2 separate regions of the Homo sapiens genome follow, and region 1 is linked to region 2. The links are contacts of gene promoters, found by promoter capture Hi-C in human tissues and cell types (Jung and others, 2019). All regions are on one chromosome and are shown on one strand. The core of a region is centred on a gene start or on the middle of the fragment in contact, and the rest is flanking DNA. Distances in the headings are between cores, read along the strand shown. Region 1 overlaps LOC105370300 (a long non-coding RNA gene). Region 2 holds the start of SLITRK5 (SLIT and NTRK like family member 5).

Region 1 (5,736 bases), core at 2,878-5,377, 820 kb before region 2:
CAGGCAAGAGAAAAAAATGAAAGGCATCCAGATAGGAATAGAGGAAGTTAAACTATCCCTGATTGCAGAAGACATGATTCTGTATCTAGAAAACCCCATAGTCTCTGCCCAGAAGCTCCTTAATCTTATACATAACTTCAGCAAAATTTCAGTATACAAAATTAATTTACAAAAATCAGTAGCATTTCTATATGCCAACAACATCCAAGCTGAGAGCCAAATCAGGAACACAATCCCATTCACAAGTGCCACAAAAGGAATAAAATATCTAAAAATACAGCTAACCAGGGGTGAAAGATCTCGACAATTAAAATTACAAAACACTGCTGAAAGAAATCAGAGATGACACAAACAAATGAAAACACATTCCATGCTTATGGATAGGAAGAATCAATATTGCTAAAATGGTCTTGCTGCCCAAAGCAATTTACAGATTCAATGTTATTCCTATCAAGCTACCTATGACATTCTTCACATAACTAGAAAAAACTATTTTAAAATTCATATGGAACCAAAAAGAGCCTGAATAGCCAAGGCAATCCTAAGCAAAAAGAACAAAGCTGGAAGCATCACATTACTCAATTTCAAACTATAATACAGGGCTTCAGTAACCAAAACAGCATGAAAGTGGTACCAAAACAGACACATAGAGCAATACAAATGAATAGAGACCCCAGAAATAAGGCCACACATCTGATCTTTGGCAAACCTGACAAAAACAAGCAATGAGGCAAGGACTCTGCCATATTCAATAAATGGTGTTGAGATAACTGGCTAGCCATCTGCAGAAGATTGAAACTGAACCCCTTCCTTACACAATATACAAAAATCAACTCAAAATAAAGACTAAAATGTAAAACCTAAAACTATAAAAACCCTGAAAGGAATAATCATTCTGGACATAAAAACTGGCAAAGATTTCATGACAAAGACACCAAAGGCAATTGCAACAAAAGTAAAAATTGACAAATGAGATCTAATTAAACTAAAGTGCTTCTGCATAGCAAAACAAACTATCAAGAGAGTAAACACATAATCTTCAGAATGGGAGAAAATATTTGCAACCTATGCATTTGACAAAGGTCTCATATCCAAAATATGTAAAGAACTTAAATTTATAAGCAAATAACAATTCTCCATTAAAAAGTAGGCAAAGGATAAGAATAGACACTTTTCACAAGGAGATATAAATGTAGCAAACAAGCATATAAAAATGCTCTATATCACTAATCATTAGAGAAATACAAATCAAAATCACAATGAGATACCATCTCATACCAGTCAGAATAGCTATTTTTTAAAAAGTCAAAAAAATAACAGTTTCTGTCAAGGTTATAGAGAAAAGGGAACACTTACACACTGCTGGTGGGAGTGTAAATTAGTTCAACTATTGTGGAAAGCAGGGTGGTTATTTCTCAAATAACTAAAAATAAAGTTACCATTTGACCCAGAAATCTCATTACTGGGTATATACCCAAAAGAATACAAAACATTATACAATAGCCAGGCACAGTGGCCCACACCTGTAATTCCAGCGCTTTGGGAGGATGAGGCGGGCAAATCACAAGTTCAGGAGTTTGAGATCAACCTGGTCAATATGGTGAAACCTCGTTTCTAATAAAATTTAAAAAATTAGCCGAGCATGGTGGTGGGCACCTGTAATCCCAGCTACCTGGGAGGCTGAGGCAGGAGAATCACTTGAACTCAGGAAGCAGAGGTTGCAGTGAGCCGAGATTGAGCCACTGCACTCCAGCCTGGGTGACAGAGTGAGAGTCTATCTCAAAAAAAAAAAATTGCACCATAAAGACACATGTGCACATATGTTCATTGTAGCACTATTCACAACGGCAAAGACATGGACTCAACCTAAATGTCCATTGATGGTAGACTGGATAAGGAATATGTGGTACATATACGTCATGAAATACTATGCAGCCATAAAAGAGAATGAGATCATGTCCTTTGCAAGAACATGGATGGAGTTGGAGGTCATTATTGTTAGTAAACTAATGGAGGAACAGAAAAAAAAATATGTATGTTCTAACTTATAAGTGGGAGCTAAATAATGAGAACCAATGGGCATGAAAAAGGAAACAGCCAACACTGAGACCTATTTGAGGGAGGGGATTGGGAGCAGGGAGAGGATCAGGAAACTTACTATTGGGTACTATGCTTAGTACCTTGGTGACAAAACGTTCTGTATAACAAACCGCCATAACATGAGTTTGCTTGTATTAATAAACCTGCACATGTACCTCTGAACCTAAAATAAAAGCTGAAAAAAAAATTGAGTCACAGATCCTAGGTTAAGAAAAACAAAAAAATAGTTATGTTAAAAATACAAAAATAAAAACAATATTGCTTTTTGTAGATATAAATACTGAAAAAACAAATATTTTAAATGCAGCATTTTTTTTTTTTTGGTTAGATGGTTACTAAGGCAAAAAGTACAAAATGCAGATAAAAAGACCTTAGCGTGAATCACAGATCTGCACTAAAACATTCATATAAAACTTAGCAATTTAATTAACTCCCGTGTACTTCAATATTATTATTTTAAATGGTAATGAGAATTCAGACTTCAAACATTTATTGTGAGAAGTTTATGAGTTAATGCAAGAGAAGAATTTCTGGTGGCTAATGAACATGCAAAAGCAAATGTTTTTCACCTTACAAATATATAATGTTGCCTTAACAGTACTTTTTATAAAAAAAATTTAATAAGTATATGTAAAAATCATAAAATTAAATTAAATTGAAGAGATTTAAAATAAGTGTATGTATGAATAATTAAGAGTAGATTATTAAAATGCAAACCAGAAAAAATAGTTGCTTTATTTTTACTCAATTTTTATGTAACTTCTTCCCATATCATTTTGTATGTAGGTGTTAAAAAAAGACTAGTACAATTGTATAATTCTCCCAACATTAATTTTCAAATATTACCTGTAACATAAATTATTTACTATAAAATATTGTATCTACAACTTCAATGTTTAAGTTTTTTATTTGTAGTTTCCCTCTTGAAAAGAAATCTGTATATATTCGGTGCAGTTTTAGAAATACATATCAAATCTTGAATTAGATAACATTTGGCTTTTTCACTATTCCAACTCTTTCTCATAGACATTATTATATTGGTTATATTATGTATACGACAATTTGAATAAAAATAACGAAGTGGGAAAAATGTTCTATTAGAAACAAATCATTAATATAAATTTATATTAAGAAGGTATGGTACTAACATTAGCATAGATTAAAAAGTATATAAAAATATACTCTCACGTCTGTGCTGTTGTATGAACGTTCGTATCTACCTCAAATTTTCAGTGTTGAAATCTAATCCCAAGGTAATAGTATTAAGATGTAAAGGCATTGGGGAGTGACTAGGTCATGGGATTAGGACTCTTATAATGGGAATAGTGCACTTATAGACACCAGAGAGCTAATTCACCCCTTCGCATTGTGAAGACACAGCTACCAAATACTGTCTATGAATCAGAAATTCCTCATCGGACATTGAATCTGGTGATGCTTTTATCTTGGCATTCCTGGCCTCCAGAACTGTATGGAATAAAGTTCTGTTGTTTAAAAGTCACTCCGTTTATGGTATTTTGTTATAGTGGCCCAAAAGGACTAAGCCATCTGGTCACGTAATATATAGAAAAGGGTGGTTTTCAAAAAGAGTAGTGTATATTATAGAAGTTTCACTAATGGTGTTTATTGAATTGGGAATCCGTATGAAAATAAATGAACTACACTTTCACTTTTACAGTAAAATAATTTCAGTAGATTAAAGATCTAAGTGTTAAAAGTGAAATAATCTTTTAAATAAATAAAACACAATTGACATGACTTAAAGGGGGACAGGGAACAGGTCTTTTTTTTTTTTTGAGACAGTCTCGCTCTGTCACCCAGGCTGGAGTGCAGTGGTGTGATCTCGGCTCACTGCAAGCTCCGCCTCCTGGGTTCATGCCATTCTCCCGCCTCAGCCTCCTGAGTAGCTGGGACTACAGGCACCCGCCACCATGCCCGGCTAAATTTTTGTATTTTTAATAGAGGCGGGGTTTCACTGTGTGTTAGCCAGGATGGTCTCGATCTCCTGACCTTGTGATCCATCCACCTCGGCCTCCCAAAGTGCTGGGATTACAGGCGTGAACCACCGTGCCTGGCCAGGGACAGGTCTTTTTTCTGTTTTTCAGCAAACACAAAATCACTATGGAGAAAAATATTTCAAATTTGACTATATTACCTTAAAAGTTAGAAAAAAAATCTTTTTCAACGAAAATATAAGTAGAATAGTAAATCTAAATCACCAGCTAGGGATAATGCATGCCATACATGTAAGCAGTTAAATTTTTGATAGATAATACATAAAAGGCTCACATCTCCCAATACAGAGAAACATAGAGAATTGTGTAAATGAATGGGCAAAAGACTTAAATAGGCAGTTCTCAAATATAAATATAAAATGAGAAACATAATGCTTAATATCATTAAAAACAGAGAAAATAGAATCTAACAATCAAGGATATGCCAAGAAATACCCATAACATTTAAGTTGACAAGACAAGAAATTCTGCAAAGCCAAAGGTTGTGGGGGCATGTAGAGTAGTGAGAACTTTTATGCATCACTAGTTGAGTTATAATTGGATTAACAACCTTGGAGTACTATTTGCATATTTGATGAGTGTGAATATGTATATATTCTGAGACGCAAGTATTCCACTCCCAGGTATCACCTATAAAAGTGGTTACACATATGTGAAAATATTCATAGTAGCATTGTATAAAACCATCAAAAATTATTAATTCATGCATTTGCCCATTATGAAAAATTACTTTGCTTTCTAAAGGTAGGATAGACCCCTGTGAGTCATTACAGTAACTTGTACTCAATATAGACCAATGTGTTCTTGAAACAGTTTATACTAATGTGTCTGACTCACTACTACAGTGAAAAAGAAATAAATCTGGGGCCGTGCGCAGTGACTCATGCCTGTAATCCCAGCACTTTGGGAGGAAAAGGCCGGTGGATCACCTGAGGTTAGGAGCTCAAGACCAGCCTGACCAACAAGGAGAAACCCCATCTCTACTAAAAATACAAAATTAGCCAGGCATGGTGGCACGTGCCTGTAATCCCAGCCACTTGGGAGGCTGAGGCAGGAGAATCGCTTGAACCCTGGAGGTGGAGGTTGTGGTAAGCTGATATCATACCATTGCACTCCAGCCTGAGCAACAAGATCGAAACTCCGTCAAAAAAAAAAAAAAAAGAGAATGAAAGAAATCTGGATAATTCAACCCATTAAACTAGTCAGGAATTACAAAGCTGAAGTTGTGTCCTAGAAGTAGTCCCTTGATATAATAGGAAAATAAATCAAAATTTATTTAAATATATATATATATATATATAAGTCATGGCTAATAGCTTATCTTGAATAAGTTATACCTTTCTAATAAATACTTTAAAAGCAGTAACGATTTTTGTGATAGGCCAAACTGTAACATGACTCCAGTGTTTCTCTTAAATGAACAGTCCTGTATTTTTTTGAGTTGGAGTCTCACTGTGTCACCAGGCTGGAATGCAGTGCTCACTCCAAACTCCGCCTCCTGGATTCAAGGGATTCTCGTCTCTCAGCCTCCTGAGTAGCTCGGATTACAGATACGCGCCATCACACCCAGTTAATTTTTGTGTTTTTAGTAGAGACAGGGTTTCACCAAGTTGGCCAGGAT
Region 2 (5,388 bases), core at 15-2,514:
TTAAAAGTTAATGACTGAATAAAAAATACAGAAATAAGCCTTTTGTGGATGACGTGTAAGTTATATTTGTTGATGCAATGTATCTACAGCTAGTGGCTATCATTCCTAGGTCAAATGCTTCTAAATTTAATGAAACGTTCATTACAAGATTTTGTTTTTATTGTCTGAAATTACATATTACTTCTTTCCTTCCTCTCCCTTGAATATAACCCATACTTAAACAAAATTGCTTCCAAATAAAGTTTTTATGGTATAAAGTAAAAATATATATATTCACACAACATACGCAGGGGAAAGTTCAAAAAAGATTGCAGTACCTCAGGAGACTGCAATGTTCATCACCTGAGATATATATACATCTCAGAACATAGACATATTATCAGACTCTATATCAATATTAAACATATGATTAACCAGATTATAACACAGTATTATCCCAAATATTACTAAGAATAAAACAATATCAATAATAATTAAGACGTAATTAATTGCAAAATAAAGTGGGTAAAATATATTTACATGGAGAAACTAACTACATAGTTATCAAAGGAACAGGCACATGTGCACTCAGCCTGCACTGGGTCACTTACTATTATCAACTTTTCTCTTATACCCGGGATGAACGGCAGGTCTAATATTACAAATATTGAAAACATGTCTTATGAAAGTAAAGACCCCTTTTTGGGGATGGAAGTGTCTGGTTTCATGGAAAGACCCAAGAATACTTACTGTAGAGATGACTCTAGTGGAGTTTAGCAGATGACTCTTCAAGAAACTCGCTTTCTATCGATATTGCATTTACTTAGGGGTTTTCCAGCTTTTTAGTACACACCAGATGTATTCACAAACATTCCCTCTGAAAGTCTTTCACATTCCCTTGTGTTGCCTAGACACACCTATAAAACGTAATTCTATTAAAGAGAAAAGAAAAGTAGCGCCCTTGTTTGCAGCTAGGAGGAACCACTCCCTTTTCCAGGATCCTTAACAGTAAGTACACGAGACAGCAGCATTCTGAATGGCAGGAGGAAGGCAGGCGATCAGCACAGGGCTGGAATCATCTGTTCCTGACCACCAGCAAGCCTGGCACTGCCGGGGTTATTTCCACTCCTCCCTTTCCCAATCCGAGAATTGCACAGTCCCACGCTCGAATTACACACATGGTCCAAGACTTCTCTCTCTTCCTACGAATGTGACATCCAAGGGGGCCCCGGTTGCGCCGCCCTAGCCCAGGGACGCCTTCGCCCTCGGCTGCCATCTATCGGCCACCGAGCGCCCGCTTCGCCCCGGGCCCATCATGTCTGCTGCAGCTTGGCTCGCACCAGAGGCGCGACAATAAACAAGTGCACTGGACTGGGCCCTGCACCCGCTCCGGAGCAGCTGTCTCAGAGACCCGGTGTTGCTTACCGCGTTGCCACCTCCTCGGCGCCCGGGAGGAAGACGCAACTTTCTCGGAGTTTTTTTTAGAGCCACCGGGCTGCCAGGACAAGCCACAGGCATAGAACGACGCGGTTGCTGCCCGCCCCCCCCTTCCCCCAGAAACCCCAAAGGATGTCGGTGATAGAGAGTTCCAACTAATGACGATTGTGCGCCGCATCTGGGGAAGGGATACAGAAAAAAACCCTGCAAACACCGTGAGGATGAAACTGCCAAAGGGATGCAAGAGCCTCTCAAATACTAATTAGGGGCCGCGGCGGCGGCGGGCTCGGCGCGGAGACAGCGTCGGCGGGATCCCAGCGCGGTGGTCGCCGCTGCGCTGGGGGGCGGAGGACAGCGCAGGAGCTGCAGCCGCCGCCTTCGCTGGAGCAGCCGAGGGGCCGGTGCCACCTTTGCTCGCCCCCTCACTACCATGTACAGTGTGCGCTGCAAGAAGAAGGCGGGAGATGCATGCACACCCCCGCGACCCGCTCCCTCTGGCTCGTCCCCCGGCGTGCGCCACTGACCAGGGGGGAATGTGGTGAAGACGGCGAGGAGGAGAGCCGAGGGGGGAGGGGAGGGCCGGCCGGCGCGAACCCAGGCCGGAGGGTGCGAGGAGCCAGAGGAGGCTGGAGGGGGCGGCGGCCACAGCTGGGTCGGAGAAAGTTGCCCCCTATGCAGATGGCAACTGTGAGTACCCCTGTGGGGGGGAGGGTGCAGCGAAGGCTGCCAGGGACCCCGCGATCGCGCCTTAACACGTATTGGAGCGAGTGTGCGAGTGATCATGAGTGTGAGCGGGTGCGAGCGCTCGGCGGGGCTGACCGTCACGTTGGCGGGGCCGGCGGGGCCAGGCAGTCTTCTCCGCGTCCCCCTCCTCCCGCTCCGTGCCTCCCCTCCCAGCAGCTCCCCCTCCCCGCCCCGCCCGGCTCCGGCTCCCGGCCCCTACCGCGAGGCGCCTCTCCAGCCGGACCTCCGCCGCCCCCTCCCGCCGCCTCCCTATCCCGCCGCTGCAGAACGCCCCCCGCTCTCCACCCCCCAACCCTGCTGCCCGCTCCGACTACCGCGGAGAGCACCGGGGAGAGCCTTTTGGGGAGCCCCGGAACCCGCGGTCGCCACCGCGGCGGCGGCCCCAGGCTGGAGGCGTCCGGGCGCCTCTTTCCTCCAGCCTCTGGGACTGCGCTGCTCGCAGTCTCCTCGCCCTGCCTGGGCTTGAGAAACCTAGTGCATACCCCAAAGAGGGTTTTTGTGTATGTGTGTGTTTTTAAAGGGTGGCTATGATGACTGGGCCTTGGAGATGTGAGACTGGGTAAGTCTATCGTTTACTTTGCAAAAGAGGTGTGTGTGTGTGTGTGTGTGTGTGTGTGTGTGTGTGTGTGTGTGTGTGTGTGTCTATGTGGCGGGGTGGTTTTCCTTCCCTCTCCTCCCTCCCCTTCTTCCTCCGTTTTCCCTTCCTTCTCTTTGGGGCGGGGTGGGGGAGGGGGAGCCTCGCGTCCTGGAACTCCGGGTGCTTCTGCCTGGGCTGCTGCTTGAGCAGCTGTGCCCGGAGCCTCCGGTGCGGCCTGGGTGCTGGGCTCCAGTCCGAGAGGCTCCATGCTGCTTACTGCAGGGACGTACAGGGCGGTGATCCAGTATCTAAATTCTTTGGGAGAAAATGAATAGTTCCCCCGCCCCCGCCCTCCAGGAAAAAAAAAAATCTGAGAATCTGAGAATGTTCAGCGCACCCGCGAATTTGCATCGGAGGTGCGTTTCCCCGTCAGAATGTCAGCCTCCCCAGGCTCATTCAACTTTATTTTCTCAAATTTTTGGTCTCCTTTGCTAGCAAGGAGGAGGGGGAAGGGAGTGGGTTGAGAGGAAGCTCTTCGACCCTTGCTAACTAGAACTGAATTAAAGTTGTAAACGCTGGAGTTTAATACTGGCTGGACTGAATTTGCAATGGGCTTTCAGATGGGGTGGGAGGTGAATGGGGGCGGGGAAGCACAGGGAGGGAGGGGGAGGGGACCCAACCTCGCTGAATGGATGTGCGGATTTGATCCAGCGGAGAACTGAAATTTCAAGGTAAACGTTTTGCTTTCACTGGGGTGGGGATGTTTTTGCCGCTTTTAAGCCGGGAGACGTTTACCGTTGCGTTGGGAGGTCGGGGATACTTGCGAGGTTTATGCACTGTGGTTCCAATTCATCTCGACACGTCTGGGTGGCCACACGTGAATGATTCGCAGGCACACTGATACATGTGCGTTTGAATGCAGGGGCGTTTAATAACGCGGGCTGGAGTCGACTTGGGGATCAGGAGCAAGGTCTCCAGGCTTGAACCCGCTGTCTCGGAAACATCTTGGCTTTAGTTTGGAGTTGCAATTCGATATTAGACTTCGGTAGTGAGGCAAAGGCAAGGTTGACCAGAGAAAAGGCATAGGTTCCTAGAGTCCAGCATTTCTATCAAATGTCCTCCACCCCATTAACCAACGCAGCATGCGCGCGCGCGCACACACAAACACACACACACACACACACACACACACACACACGCTCATTCCATTTATGTCCTTCCTTTAAGAGTGCTGCTGTTGATCAGAAGTAGGAAGTGGAAGGAAGCCTTCAAGGGGACAAAAAGAGAGCAAGAAAAAAAAGGGGGAGGGGGTCATATTGATTCCTGTGGGAGATGAAATTCGGATATTAAACAACTGACCTAAGTCGCTTACAGTTCTTCCTCCCACCTTTCTATTTTGCCTCTTAATCAGCCCAGGCGTCCTTTCCCTGAGATTAAAAAAAAGAGAGAGGGGAGCGTTAACAATTAAATGTAATAAGCAACTCCAAAGATGGGGATGCTGTCGAGGTGGTAGTTCCGTGCAAACCTTGCTATTACCGTTGCAAATAGACGCGGAGCCCAAGGTAAGGGAGGCTTTCGTGCTGATCCTTGGTGTACTGATTCCCGGTAAGCGGTAGGAACGTCCTTTTTAAACTCTAGGCATCGGGAGGTATTCGGAGATTGCGGATACCTTCGCTGAGTTCTTTGTAATCCATCGTGCAGAACTATTTCAGTGGCTTAAAGATGCGGTTTGGTAGCGTCGCTGACATGATCAATGAGAAGTGGTCGCAGGGCGCTCTCCGGGAAGCGCTGCTAAGTGGTACCGTGCATGCAATTAGGACGCTGATGTGCTTTAATAGCGTGGTAGTGAAGTCCACCATCAAAGCAAATGCGCTCTCCTTTTTTCTCCTTACTCAAAGCTCCGGGAGACAATTGGTGATTTAAGAGCTTCTTGGGGCTCCTTTGATGCATTATATTACAGCCTTTTTGCCTCTGAAAAGTATCCTTTAGGTTCCCACCGTGGCATTTCTAGCGATGGTTTAAAATACCCCAAGTATTTTGGCTCCTTGCCTCTCTGTGAACATGAGAGACCTTCACGGTGAACTGTTAACTGAAGAGGCTCTGAAAGAAAGAAGGGGGGGTGGGGGCTGGGTATAGGTGAGGTGGGGAACCTTGTAAAATGGTGCTTCTTTTTTCTTAAATTAGAACCATGAAACTGAACTGACAGCCATTTTATGTATATTTATGGATTGGTTTTGAAAAGGGGGGGAGAAGAGAAAACTAAAATGGGACTTTATCTAACCTGCTCTTATCTTGTAAGGAGCAGCATATTTGTGGTGTGCTCATTTAAAAAAATTAATCAACCTTTAAATCAAAATGTATAATAGATTTTAATAAAATCTAGAGAATGTCAATGTTTCACTTGGGGAGGTGTGTCATTTGTATCTCTTCCTTTTGGGTTTTAGAGTAATAATGTTAAGAAAGAGAGAGACTTTCTGACTGATCCCTTAAATTTTTGTCATATTCTGTTATTTCCTTGTTTTCTCTCTCCCTTACAGGAGGTAAAATGCACACTTGCTGCCCCCCAGTAACTTTGGAACAGGACCTTCACAGAAAAATGCATAGCTGGATGCTGCAGACTCTAGCGTTTGCTGTAACATCTCTCGTCCTTT

What was found. Contacts are between HindIII fragments. The study calls those that stand out against the background at their distance.
Region 1: a contact is called between a fragment that was not itself captured here and the fragment with the promoter of SLITRK5 in region 2, in 1 of the 25 tissues and cell types used here (dorsolateral prefrontal cortex).

The regions. Positions count from the first base shown.
Region 1 is chr13:86,851,600-86,857,335 of GRCh38, forward strand. The region is part of intron 2 of LOC105370300 (a long non-coding RNA gene); the gene reads left to right. Among named protein-coding and RNA genes, the nearest start is that of LINC00430, 55 kb to the right of the region's middle. The HindIII fragment of the contact is 4,406 bases long and covers 1,925-5,736 here.
Region 2 is chr13:87,670,107-87,675,494 of GRCh38, forward strand. SLITRK5 (SLIT and NTRK like family member 5) reads left to right here and starts at 1,265. Exons shown (of 2, transcript NM_001384609.1): 1 at 1,265-2,103; 2 at 5,275-5,388. The coding sequence starts at 5,283. It overlaps LOC124900338 (formin-like protein 5), which reads right to left and starts at 2,261. Exons shown (of 2, transcript XM_047430855.1): 1 at 730-2,261. The coding sequence starts at 2,199. The coding sequence ends at 1,675. MIR4500HG (MIR4500 host gene) reads right to left here and starts at 857. Exons shown (of 6, transcript NR_033829.1): 1 at 730-857. RefSeq lists enhancers at 992-1,493, 3,918-5,117. The HindIII fragment of the contact is 26,915 bases long and covers 1-5,388 here.